Regions from separate parts of the Homo sapiens genome. Here all the other regions are linked to region 1. The links are contacts of gene promoters, found by promoter capture Hi-C in blood cells and fetal thymus (Javierre and others, 2016). All regions are on one chromosome and are shown on one strand. The core of a region is centred on a gene start or on the middle of the fragment in contact, and the rest is flanking DNA. Distances in the headings are between cores, read along the strand shown. Region 1 holds the start of SEMA5B (semaphorin 5B). Region 2 overlaps PARP14 (poly(ADP-ribose) polymerase family member 14). Region 3 overlaps HSPBAP1 (HSPB1 associated protein 1). Region 4 overlaps HSPBAP1 (HSPB1 associated protein 1).

The links. Contacts are between HindIII fragments. The CHiCAGO score rates a contact against its expected background, and 5 or more counts as called.
Region 2: a contact is called between a fragment that was not itself captured here and the fragment with the promoter of SEMA5B in region 1, in 1 of 17 cell types (M0 macrophages). The highest score is 5.6, in M0 macrophages.
Region 3: a fragment that was not itself captured here is called in contact with the fragment with the promoter of SEMA5B in region 1 in 2 of 17 cell types (M2 macrophages and M1 macrophages); the score reaches 12.3 in M2 macrophages.
Region 4: a fragment that was not itself captured here is called in contact with the fragment with the promoter of SEMA5B in region 1 in 9 of 17 cell types (M2 macrophages, naive CD4 T cells, naive B cells and 6 more); the score reaches 11.5 in M2 macrophages.

Annotation. Positions count from the first base shown.
Region 1 is chr3:123,026,417-123,029,185 of GRCh38, forward strand. It overlaps SEMA5B (semaphorin 5B), which reads right to left and starts at 1,347. Exons shown (of 23, transcript NM_001031702.4): 1 at 1,048-1,347. RefSeq lists an enhancer at 1,951-2,458. The HindIII fragment of the contact is 2,453 bases long and covers 1-2,255 here.
Region 2 is chr3:122,714,065-122,716,833 of GRCh38, forward strand. It overlaps PARP14 (poly(ADP-ribose) polymerase family member 14), which reads left to right. Exons shown (of 17, transcript NM_017554.3): 12 at 198-365. Among named protein-coding and RNA genes, the nearest start is that of PARP14, 35 kb to the left of the region's middle. The HindIII fragment of the contact is 1,144 bases long and covers 875-2,018 here.
Region 3 is chr3:122,741,295-122,744,063 of GRCh38, forward strand. The region is part of intron 6 of HSPBAP1 (HSPB1 associated protein 1); the gene reads right to left. Among named protein-coding and RNA genes, the nearest start is that of HSPBAP1, 51 kb to the right of the region's middle. The HindIII fragment of the contact is 2,946 bases long and covers 1-2,769 here.
Region 4 is chr3:122,761,219-122,763,987 of GRCh38, forward strand. All of the region lies in intron 3 of HSPBAP1 (HSPB1 associated protein 1), which reads right to left. Among named protein-coding and RNA genes, the nearest start is that of HSPBAP1, 31 kb to the right of the region's middle. The HindIII fragment of the contact is 5,963 bases long and covers 1-2,769 here.

The sequences.
Region 1 (2,769 bases), core at 97-2,596:
TCGGAACTACCCAAAGACTGGGCTCGAGGTGGGGGGCGGGGGCGGGGAGGAGGGGGCCAGAACGGCGCTGCAGGTGATCCTCCTCCTTGTTTAAAGTTTGCGGTGGGCAAAGGAGTCGGCTCCGTTGGGCCGGGTTTTCTCGAGCCTCGCCTTCTTCCTCCGCCGGTCCGGCGACCACTTCCCTCTTGGCTCCCGCCCCGCGCGGGTCCCCGATCCCCTCTCCCGTCTGCATCCCTCTCTGTGCCCGAGCGCCCCCCGCTCCCTCCCTCCTCGCTGGATCTCCCGCAGGACGTGAGCGGAAAGTGAATGGGCAGCCCCAACCACAAAGACAAATTACCATGAGAAACATAAATCGGGAAATCGCCGCTCGCGTCCCTGCTTCCAGCTGCCGCACCCCTCTCCACCCTCCCAGCCGGGAGTGCGGGGCCCTGAGCCACTGCCCCTGGAGCCTGGTGGGCAGAGTTCACGCTCCGCAGGCCTGGTCAGGGCAAGAGTGTCCTGGAGGCGGGTCTGGGAAGAATCCGGGCGGCGGCTCCGCAGGCGGCGGCGGTGGAGCAGGGACGTCCCTGAGCGGGAGATTTCACACTCTGGGCGGGCCACGCGTTCCCACGCGCCTCGCCGCCCGCACTCTCCCTCAGTGCTGTTTACTAGCCGGCCCTCTCTGAGCCTCCATCTCCGCACCTCTGTCCCTCCGTCCCTCAGCCTCACTCGTCCGTCTCCTTCTCCAGGCCTGGGTCCCGGGTCCCCATCGCCGCTGCAGCCCAGATGCGCCGACCACAGCCCTGGCAGGGCCCAGTGCAACCCGGACCCAAGCTGGCTGGCGGCGGGAACGCAGCAGCGATGAGGGCTCTCAAGCCGAGGTGGCAGCGGGAGGCGCGGAAGCCAGGGGACCCCCTGTCCTCCCGCCCGCAGCCTCACCTACCTGGCTTCAACTTGCCAGAGCCCGGACCCCTACCTCTCTACCCCGATACCCACCCGAGTTGCTGAAGTTTGCAAGTTGCAGCCCCAACCCGCGCAGGGGAAGCGCCCGGGGCTCCCGGGACTCACCTCCCAGAGGCGGGTGCAGGTGCCCGGTTCCCCGCGGCTCCCGACTCCCGGGCGGCGCGGAGCGGCGGGAGCTAACCAGATGGGCTGGCGGCCGGTCTGGGAATGGGGCGGCCGCGCAGGAACGGCCTCCAGCTCTCAGCGCTCCGGTGCAGTCCCCACCCGGGCCCGCGCCCGCTGCGCTCGGGCTCCCAGCAGCCGCTGGATGCGCTGCCGACCCGCCCGGCTCGGCGGAGCTGGGCTCTGGCACCAACCCCCGCGCTCCAACTAGCTCCCGACCCGGCGCTCGGAGAGAGCAGGGAGGAGGAGACCGCGGGAGCAGAAGGAGGGAGGGGGCGGTGGGGGAGGAGTTGCAAGCAAAGGGAGAGAAGGAGGGGAGCGGGAGCGAAAAAGAGGAGGGGGCTGGAGCAGACCTGCCGCGGCGGGCGCTGCACCCGCCAGCCTCGAGGCGCGCGGAGGAGCGCGAGGGGGCGCCCTGCATCCCGCGGCTGCTCGGCCGACTCCCGCCCCGGGCCTGCCGAGTGTGGTGACCAGCCCGGTGGGCCGAAGCCCCTTCCCCGGCCGGCATTCCGGCGGCAAGACCTAGGACTCCGAGCACTTGCCGCCGTTTGCCACATCCCGCCTTGCCGTTCTCGGTCACCCCATCTCGAATGTGACATCCCCGAGGGCCATCGGCGCGGCCTGCCCACCCCAACACTCAGGGCCTGAGGAAGCTCCCCCAAACCCCACTCCGGACTCCCACATTCCCCAGCCCCGTCAGTTCGGAACGATCTTCCTGCCTGTGGATTTGAAGGGGAAGGGACCTCGTGTAAAACGGGGGAGAGCCGTTATAACCTGCAGCGGCAGAGAGGGAGGCTAGGCTGCTGGGCTGGGCTGGAAAGCCAGAACTGGCCGGATTAGGGTTAACCTTGCAAACTGTACGATACCGAGCGAACCTCTCCAAGCCTCAGTTTCCTCAGCTGTAAACTGGGGTTAGTAATACGCACCCTACAGAATTGTGAAGAACGAGTAGGGGATACGGGGAGTAAAATAACATCAGGAACAGTGGGAGGGCAGCCAAGAGATGAGCGATCCGGGGAGGTGGTGGAGCGTTCTCAGCTGAGGACGGAAGGTTTAGCGCAATCACAAGGAGCGAGGCCGAATTGTTTACAAGTTTAAGTGATCTAGTGTTTCTGATGGCTAGAAGGCGGGAGAGAAAGATTCAAGGGGCAAGCTTCAAATCCTAGCTGCCCGGGCTGCAAGAGGGATGGGAAGGGAGCCCTCTGCTGAACAAAAAATATATTTGAAAATGTAAAAAAAGGTGACCTAAGAACGAGTGAGAAAGACAAAGGATTTGAAAAATTAAAACCAGGAAAGTGTGATTCTAAGAGATAACCAAAGAGAACTATGAAATAAAAATAGATAAGTTGGAGGAAGGAAAATATCAAAAGACTTTCTAGAGTATGCCAAAAATTGGATAATTAGAACAAAGTCTGAGTGAAGCATTTTACATAATAAAATTCTGGGTAAAGGAAAACCCAGATAAAGCAGAAGAATTGAGACACTAAGAGCCCCAGAGAAGCACCTCCTGCCTGCCATCCTCCTACCCCTGGACCATGGCAAGAAGCAGTTTGACAGGATAATGGGAAAGAAAGGGTGGTTCTGAATCCAAGAAGGGAGTTTATGAGACACTGTAAAAAGAGAAACAGTGCAAGATCTCAAAGATAGACTTTCTAGGGCAACAGA
Region 2 (2,769 bases), core at 197-2,696, 310 kb before region 1:
ATCACAGACACTTAGAAGTGAAAAGTAATCTCACAGTTAAAAGTAAAGTTAAGTCATAGCATTCCATCAAAGATAGTATTTCAGGAGTTTTTTTTTTTTCACAAAATGCTTACTTGCCAAGTTATACATTTTGCTTTCTAAACAAATGACGGGTTCAACTTCTACTAATTTTGCATCTTTTTGTCTGTGTTTCCCAGCTCAGCAGCGCAAAAATGATTATATAATCACCGGAGGTGGATTTTTGAGGTGCAAGAATATCATTCATGTAATTGGTGGAAATGATGTCAAGAGTTCAGTTTCCTCTGTTTTGCAGGAGTGTGAAAAAAAAAATTACTCATCCATTTGCCTCCCAGCCATTGGGACAGGTTCGTAGCCTCTGGCTGTCAAGGCTAAATCCCAAGCCATCTACTTTCCCTTTCATTTGGAGCTGAGTGTGAATGCGGTCAGTGCTGAGTCTGACCCAGGGCAGCAACCATTAAGCTAGGAGTGGACAGCTTCCTCCCCATAAGACAACTCCCAAGGGAATGACAAAGCCTGTGGATTGTTTGAGTAAAAGAGGGACAAAATGCAGGAGACTGAAGAGAGTGTTAGAATGTTAGAGAGGCAGAAAGAAGGGAAGGGAAAATAAGGAGGAGAAGAGAAGGGAGAGAGTGGAAAGGCCATCCCTCATTCTCTTTCCTCAGTTACTTTCCCTTTTTCCATTCCCTACATATTCTCCATTATGCAGTCCTTAGCTTCCTCCTCTTTCCCCTCTCCATGGAGAATATTAGTACAACAACTTCCACCTCACTCTAGCTGATTCCCAGAGGAATATTACCAGGCTTCAGCTCAACAGTCAGCTGTGTCACTTGGCCTCAGGGCATTTCTGTGTAGAAGCTTCTCAGTCACCAGAACCTAGTGGGTCAGAAACTCAACTCTCCACTTTCCTCTTTTCAGCCTACTTGCTTCTTTGATTTTCTTCTTTTCCTAAAACTAGGTAATGATAGCGTGATTTTTCATATATAAGGATGGCGCTCTGGATTTATCATTAATTAGGTGGTTTTTTTTTTTTAATTATACTGGGGTACATGGGCAGAATGTGCAGTTTTGTTGCACAGGTGTTCTTTGAGCTCTTTAGGAATCCCTGCTTGGTCTCCTTCAGAGAGCTGGTCAGGGGAGGCATGCATTCTTAGGCTTGAAGTCAACGGAGCTGCCTTGTTCCAGTGCGAGAATAGTCAGCATCGGATCTGTCATTCTGTTGCTCGGGAATCTAAGTTTGAATCTCTTATGCTGGCATTCTAGGCTTTCCAAAAGGTTATCCTCAATAAACTTAACCATCCTTGTCAATTTCTGGGCCTTCTTCTAACCCTCTGACCCATATCTGTAATTCTGTACCATTTCTTATAATGTTCCGAGATGGAATTCTATGTCTATTTTACAACTTTTCTATTTCTAAAAGTATAATTTTTGATCCCTTTGTTTTCATTCCCCTTAGAGTATCATCTATTCCTAGCAGATTAGCCAACATTTCTCCTATCTCTCTCTACCAGTCATCTATCTATCTATCTATCTATCTATCTATCTATCTATCTATCTATCTATCTATCTATCGATCTGTCTATCTATCTCTATCATCTCTCTACTGACTTATCTTTTATGGACACCCACCAATGACTCCTCAGTCTCTGTCTCCATCTGTTTTTTTCTCTGAGCTCTAGTCTTGGGTTTCCACCTTCAGTTGATTTGGGCCAAGAAAGCAAGCAGCTTAGGGGTGCCACAGACCTTCCCAAAGGAGTCCCTGGTAGAGTCAAAAGAAGAAACAAAGAAAGAAGGTAGGTTTCGTTTTGTATAAATATGTACACATTTGAGCATTTCTGGACTCAATTCTGGACTCAACAACAAATCCTGTTGTTTCTTCCACTGACCTGGTTGCATTGCTGGTCAGCACAAATAAATCAGGGTTAGTGGGTTATCCTTGCATGTCCTCTTTACCTATCTTTATCACCACCTGAGCTGGTTCTGAGACTGATAGATGTAGAAGCTTTCTCTTTTAGTGGTGTATATGAGTTGAATTAAGACTGTGATCAAGACAGCCTCTGGCAGTTAAAGGAGCCTCCTCTCTGTTCCTTAAAGACACCTGCATAAGAGGAGAGATTAGGTGGTTAGCAATACCTGTGATCACCTCAAGCTCAACGCAGACTCCAAACTCTCATTCCTTGTCATCTCCCCAAACCTGCCCTTCCTCTTATATCCCCAATCACGTGAAAAACATCACTTTCCATCTAGAGTCCTTGACTCTACCCTCTTCGTCACTCCGATCTTCATTAGCTTAGGAATTATTTGATTGAATATTTACTGAGTGCCTGCATCTGCAAGGCACCATGTTTAGGCTCTGGAGATAGAAAGATAACTAAGAAAAGGATCCAGTTCACAAGGAGCACTGAGCCCAGTGTGAGAGACAGGCATGCAAACAAACAACTGCAATGCAACGTGAACCATGATATAGTGAAGGTATGTGTATGGCAAAAGACAGAGAGGGAAAGGTGAAGGACAAACCCAGCTGGTCCCTAGGTACTCCTGACTTTACTTCCAAAATAGCTCCTCAATCCCTATTCTTCATTCTGGCCTCCTCTTTTTGTTCAGCTCTTGTCTTTTGACTAAGCTTTTATTACAGCGTCCTAACTAGACCTGGGCTCCCCGCTCCATGCTTCCTCCATACCCCTCCAGACTTAACTTCCTCAAAACTAGGTCTGTTCTGCATACGTGCCAGGCTGAACATATACCCATTAC
Region 3 (2,769 bases), core at 145-2,644, 290 kb before region 1:
GAGCTGCAGAATATTTCACCAATCAAATTTAAGTATGTATTCTATCTATAAGTCATGGCCTTAAGTATGAATCACCTTATGATATTTTCTCCAATCTTTTCCATTATTTGACATGTTTAAAGTTTTTTTTTTAAAGTACCACATACAGAGGAATAATCCCTATAGAGTCTGACAAGCAAATTATTTCAGAGATGGAAGAAAAATTACAATAAACATGCTTGGCTACAAGAATGAGATGGCTATCCATCTAAACGTGGCTTTAAGACAGAGTAAATATAAGGTATAGCATTAATGAGGAACTGCATTAAAATCAACAACTTCTGTTTACGAAAAAACACCACAAAGGAAAAAAACAAACTAGATGCCTGTAACATATATAACTGATAAAATATTAATGTGTAGAATAATCTACACATATCAATAAGAGAAATGAGCAAATTTTAAAAAATGGGCAAAAGACACAATGATAAGCATTTTAAAAAGGAGCAATCAGAGGACTAATAAACATATGAAGATATGTTTAGCCTCCAGGGAAGTGCAAATTGAGAAATCCATGAAATTGGCAAAAAGGGGCCTGATAGTTCCAAGTGGGACATTGAGAGACAAAAGTCTTATACACTAATGGGAAAGCAAACTGATAGAGACATTTGGAAAACATGGGTGGCATTATCTCGTAAACTTGAGTATTGTATACCCTATGGACCAGCAATACCACTCTGAGATTTATACACAGTCTAGATAAACTTTTGCACATGTGTGCCAGGAAACATGTACAAGAATATTCTGTTCATAGAAGCAAAAAATTGAACACTGAATCATCCATCAATAGAACAATGAATAATATATAAATTATTATAAATATAATAAATTATTGATATATATACATATATTAATATATGAATAGTAACTAAAATAGTAACAATGAATAAATATTAATAATGAATAAATTATGGGCTACCTTAACACAGTATTATATCACAGTGAAAAGGAATGAACAGCTTACATGTGACAACACAAATGAATCTTAGAAACACAATATTGAACTTAAAAAAGCAAATCTCCATGATGAGATATGACTTCACACCAGGATAGTGCTAATAAAAAAAAGACAGATATTAACAAGTGTTGGTGAGGATGCAGAGAAATCAGAATCTTCATACATTGCTGGTGGGAATGTAAAATGGTGCTTCAGAAACCTGGGAGTTCCTCAAAAGGTTAAACACAGAGTTACCATATGTAATGATTAATTTTGAGTCAAGGTGGCTAGACAATAGCACCCAGTTGTTTGGTCAAACAATAATCTGGATGTTGCTGTGAAGATAACTTGAAGATATTATTAGCATTTACAATCAACTGACTTTATGTAAAGGAGATTATACTCAATAATGTATGTGGTCCTTACCCAATTAGTTGAAGTCCTTAAGAGCAAAAACTGAGATGTCTTAGAGAAAAAAATTCTGCCTCAAGACTGTAATAGAAGTCCTATGTGAGTTTCCAGCCTGCCAGCCTGCCCTACAAATTTCAGACATGCCAGCCACTACAATCAAGTAAGCCCATTCCTTAAAGTAAATCTCAATCTCTTGTTCTCTATATAAATACAGACATTTCTATCTATGTATTTATAGATATCTACATTTACGTACATGTAGACATCATGTAAAGATATCTATCTACGTATATACTCATACGAATGGGATTACTGGATCATATGGTGTATCGGAGTTCCTCAGAGAAACAGAACCAACAGAAGATACAGTCAGATAACCAGATACAGACATAACACATAACATTAGATTCATTATATACCATAAGATTTAGCCAGGCTATAGCATGCATCAGTATTTCATTCCTTGTGATAGTTGAAAAACATTCCATTGTACACATATACCACATTTTGTTTATCCACTCATCAGATGATTGATATTTGAGTTGTGTCACTTTGGGCTATTATGAATACTACTACTGTAAACATTCGTGTAGAAGTTTTTGTGTGGGCCAGGCACGGTGGCTCACACCTGTAATCCTGGCATTTTGGGAGGCCAAGGCGGGTGGATCACCTGAGGTCAGGAGTTCGAGACCAGCTTCAACTTGGAGAAACCCCGTCTCTACTAAAAATACAAAATTAGCTGGGCCTGGTGGTGCATGCCTTTAATCCCAGCTACTCAGGAGGCTGAAGCAGGAGAATTGCCTGAACCTGGGAGGCGGAGGTTGCGGTGGGCCGAGATCGAGCCATTGCACTCCAGCCTGGGCAACAAGAGCGAAACTTTGTCTCAAACAACAAAAAAAAAAGTTTTTGTGTGGACATATATTTTCATTTTTCTTGGGTATACACCTAGGAATGGAATTGCTGGGTCATATGGTATATCAGTCAAGGTTCTCCAAAGAAAGAGAACCAATAGAAAAAAATATATATGTGTGCATATGTGTACAGAGATAAGACAGATGGATAGATGGACAGATAATGTGACAAAACTTTTTTGTTTAAACAAGAGAATGAGGAGAGTGAACGGAACAGACAGGAAAGGGATTGGGAAGAACACAGCACAAATGCAAGTTACTGATAAAATTCTAGGCTGGGCATGGTGGCTCATGCCTGTAATCCCAGCACTTTTGGAGGCCAAAGTGGAAGTACTGCTTGAGGCCAAGAGTTTGACGCTGCAGTGAGCTATGACTGCACCACTGCACTCCAGCCTGGGCAACAGAATGAGATTCCATCTCTAAAAAATAAAAAAATAAAAAATTCTAGTTTTCGGGTTAGGTAATGAGTTT
Region 4 (2,769 bases), core at 183-2,682, 270 kb before region 1:
GTGATTCTTAATCTTATAGATACATCCCTTCAGGAATCTAATGAATACCAAAGCCCCTTCTCCTCAGAAAAAAGCACACACGAAACTTTATATATACTTTCAAAGAGGTGACAGACCAACCCCACATGAAAAACCCTGTTCTAGAGCCCTGCTTTGGAAAGAATCACTGAAGGTTTTTCTACAGGGTGAGGTTACTGTATGAGAAACTGAGGAGAGACTTCCCTGGCCTCCTGTCTAACAGTAATAATGACTTAAAAAGCAAAACTGTCAGCCAGGTGCAGTGGCTCATGCCTGTAATCCCAGCACTCTGGGAGGCTGAGGTGGGAGGACTGCCTGGGTCCAGGAGTTCAAGACCAGCGTGGGCAATGTTTGGTGAGGCTCTGTCTCTACAAAAAGGTTTTTTTTTTTTTTTTAACAAATTGGCTGGGCGTGGTGGCATGCACCTGTGGTCCCAGCTACTTGGGAGGCTGAGAAGGGAGGATCACTTGAGCTTGGGAGGTCAAGGCTTCAGGGAGCTATGTTTGCACCACAGCACTCCAGCCTGAGTGCCTGAGTGACAGAGCAAGACCTTGTCTCAAAAAAAAAAAAAAAAAAGCAAAATTGTCAGTGTAAAAATAGACAGCATTGAGAGTTGGGATTCTCTTCCCAATTAAGTTCAGCCACTTATGGGTAGTCAAATGTCTGAAGTCAATGTGGGCCCAGGAATCTGTCTTGAGTCTTGCTAGAAACAGGAGGCCCTGTTTGAGTGCTGCATCTGTAAAACCAAAAAGGGTGATCAGTGGGGTGATCTGTTCTGGAGTCTACTCATACATACCTCAAGAGTTGGAAAAATCTTTAAAAATCATCTATTCTCAGCAAGTTCTATTCTACACCATCCCTGAAAAGAGCGACAAGTAGCTAGCTAGTTGACCACTTACTACAAAATCAGTATCTACTTCCTGGTAGCTTACAGAGGAGGGTCCTAGATCTGCTTTCTATAACTAAAGAGAACAAGTTTATTTCCTGCCAAAAATTGCTATTTTTATCAGAAAACTGTCCAACTTCTCCTTTATCTTTTTTTTTTTTTAACCTAGACACAGCAGCATTAACTTTTCCTTCCAATTGCTCTTCTCTCAATTTCCTTTACTTTGTCAACAGCCCTAAAGCCTGGCTCCCAAACTGAACCCCAGATACAGTCTACACAGAACCTGTATCCATGGAATTGTAACATTCCATGACCCGCACATCATACCATTAATGCACTGTCAGACGGCACTTTTCTTTTTAAGCAACTAAATTATACCAAGGCTAATATTGGGCCTCCCTGTCTCTTACTTGCAGACTGTTGCTTAGCATATCTCTTCAGCCTTGACTTATAGTCAAGGACTAGCCTAATATTTCCTAATTTTCCTTGTGATTTACTATTTGACTTATGGATTATTTGGAAGTGTAATGTTTAATTTCAAATTTTTGGGGATTTTTCAGCTATCTTTTTGTCATGAATTTTTAATTTAATTCTGTTGTGGTGAGAGAACATAATTTGTATGAGTTAAATCCTTTTAAATTATTGAAACTTGTTTTATGGCCCAGAATATAATCAATCTTGATAAAGATTCCATATGCACTTGGAAATAGTGTTTTCTGTTGTTGGGTGGAGTGTTTTATAAATGTCAATTAAATCAAGTTGATTGTTCAAGTCTCCTGTATCCTTACTGATTTTCTGTATATTTGTTTTACCCATTATAGAGACAGAGGTATTGAAATCCCCCTACTATAATTGTGTATTTGTGTTTTTCTCATTTTAGGTTGGTCAGTTTTGTTCATGTATTTTGAAACTGTTATTGGGTTCATACACATCTGGGATTATTATATCAGCTTGGTGAAGTGACCTTTTATTGTGATGAAATACCCTCTCTACCTTGGGTTTACTTGTTCTGATGTTAACTATGTCTGTCTCCTCCTTTGATTAGTGTTAGCATGAAAAAGGAGTACTTACTATATGATTCCATTTTTATGAAATTCTAGAACTGCCAAACTAACCTGCAGTGACAGAAAGTAGATCAGTGGTGTCTGAGAATGAGGGTGTAGGGAGAGACAGGTTAGGAAGGGACACTGGGAACCTTCTGGACATGATCAAAATGTCTGTCATCTTGAATGTGGTGATGGTTTCTTGGGTGTAGGTATATGTAAAACTTAATCAAACTGTTCACGTTAAATATATGCTGTTTATTACATATCAGTTATACCCCAATAAAGCTGTGTGTGTTTTTTTTTAATACAATACTATTAGTACACTTTGGTCCCACTGTCTCGACACTAGCAGTTTTGTTCACCATTGCATTTGTATTATCAGTGCAAATGTCAACACTGTGAAATAAGCAAGTATCATCTTAGAAGTATTATGAAAATAATTTTGATCTCAAAGATCCTCTGAAAGGGTGTCAGGGACCCCCAGGGGTCTATGGGCCACTCTGGTTTACAACATCACAACTGTAATTACTCTATTTTTTTCTGTTCTGACTCCTCCTCTAAGTAATTCTAAAACAGTTTCTTATGAAAATACATTTTAAATCATACTCCAGATTAAAATTAAAATACTTTAATCATGTTCACAAACATTTTATAAGTTAAAATTATATAAGGATAGCATTTAAGACCCTCCCAAGTATGGCTGATGCCGCCTGTCTGCTCCACGCAAGGCCCTGTCCAATCTCCCCACTGACCTATGTTCTCTCTTCCCTCCTGGCCTCTGCTCATGCCCCCTTCAATTTCTGCCTGTTAAAGTTCTAT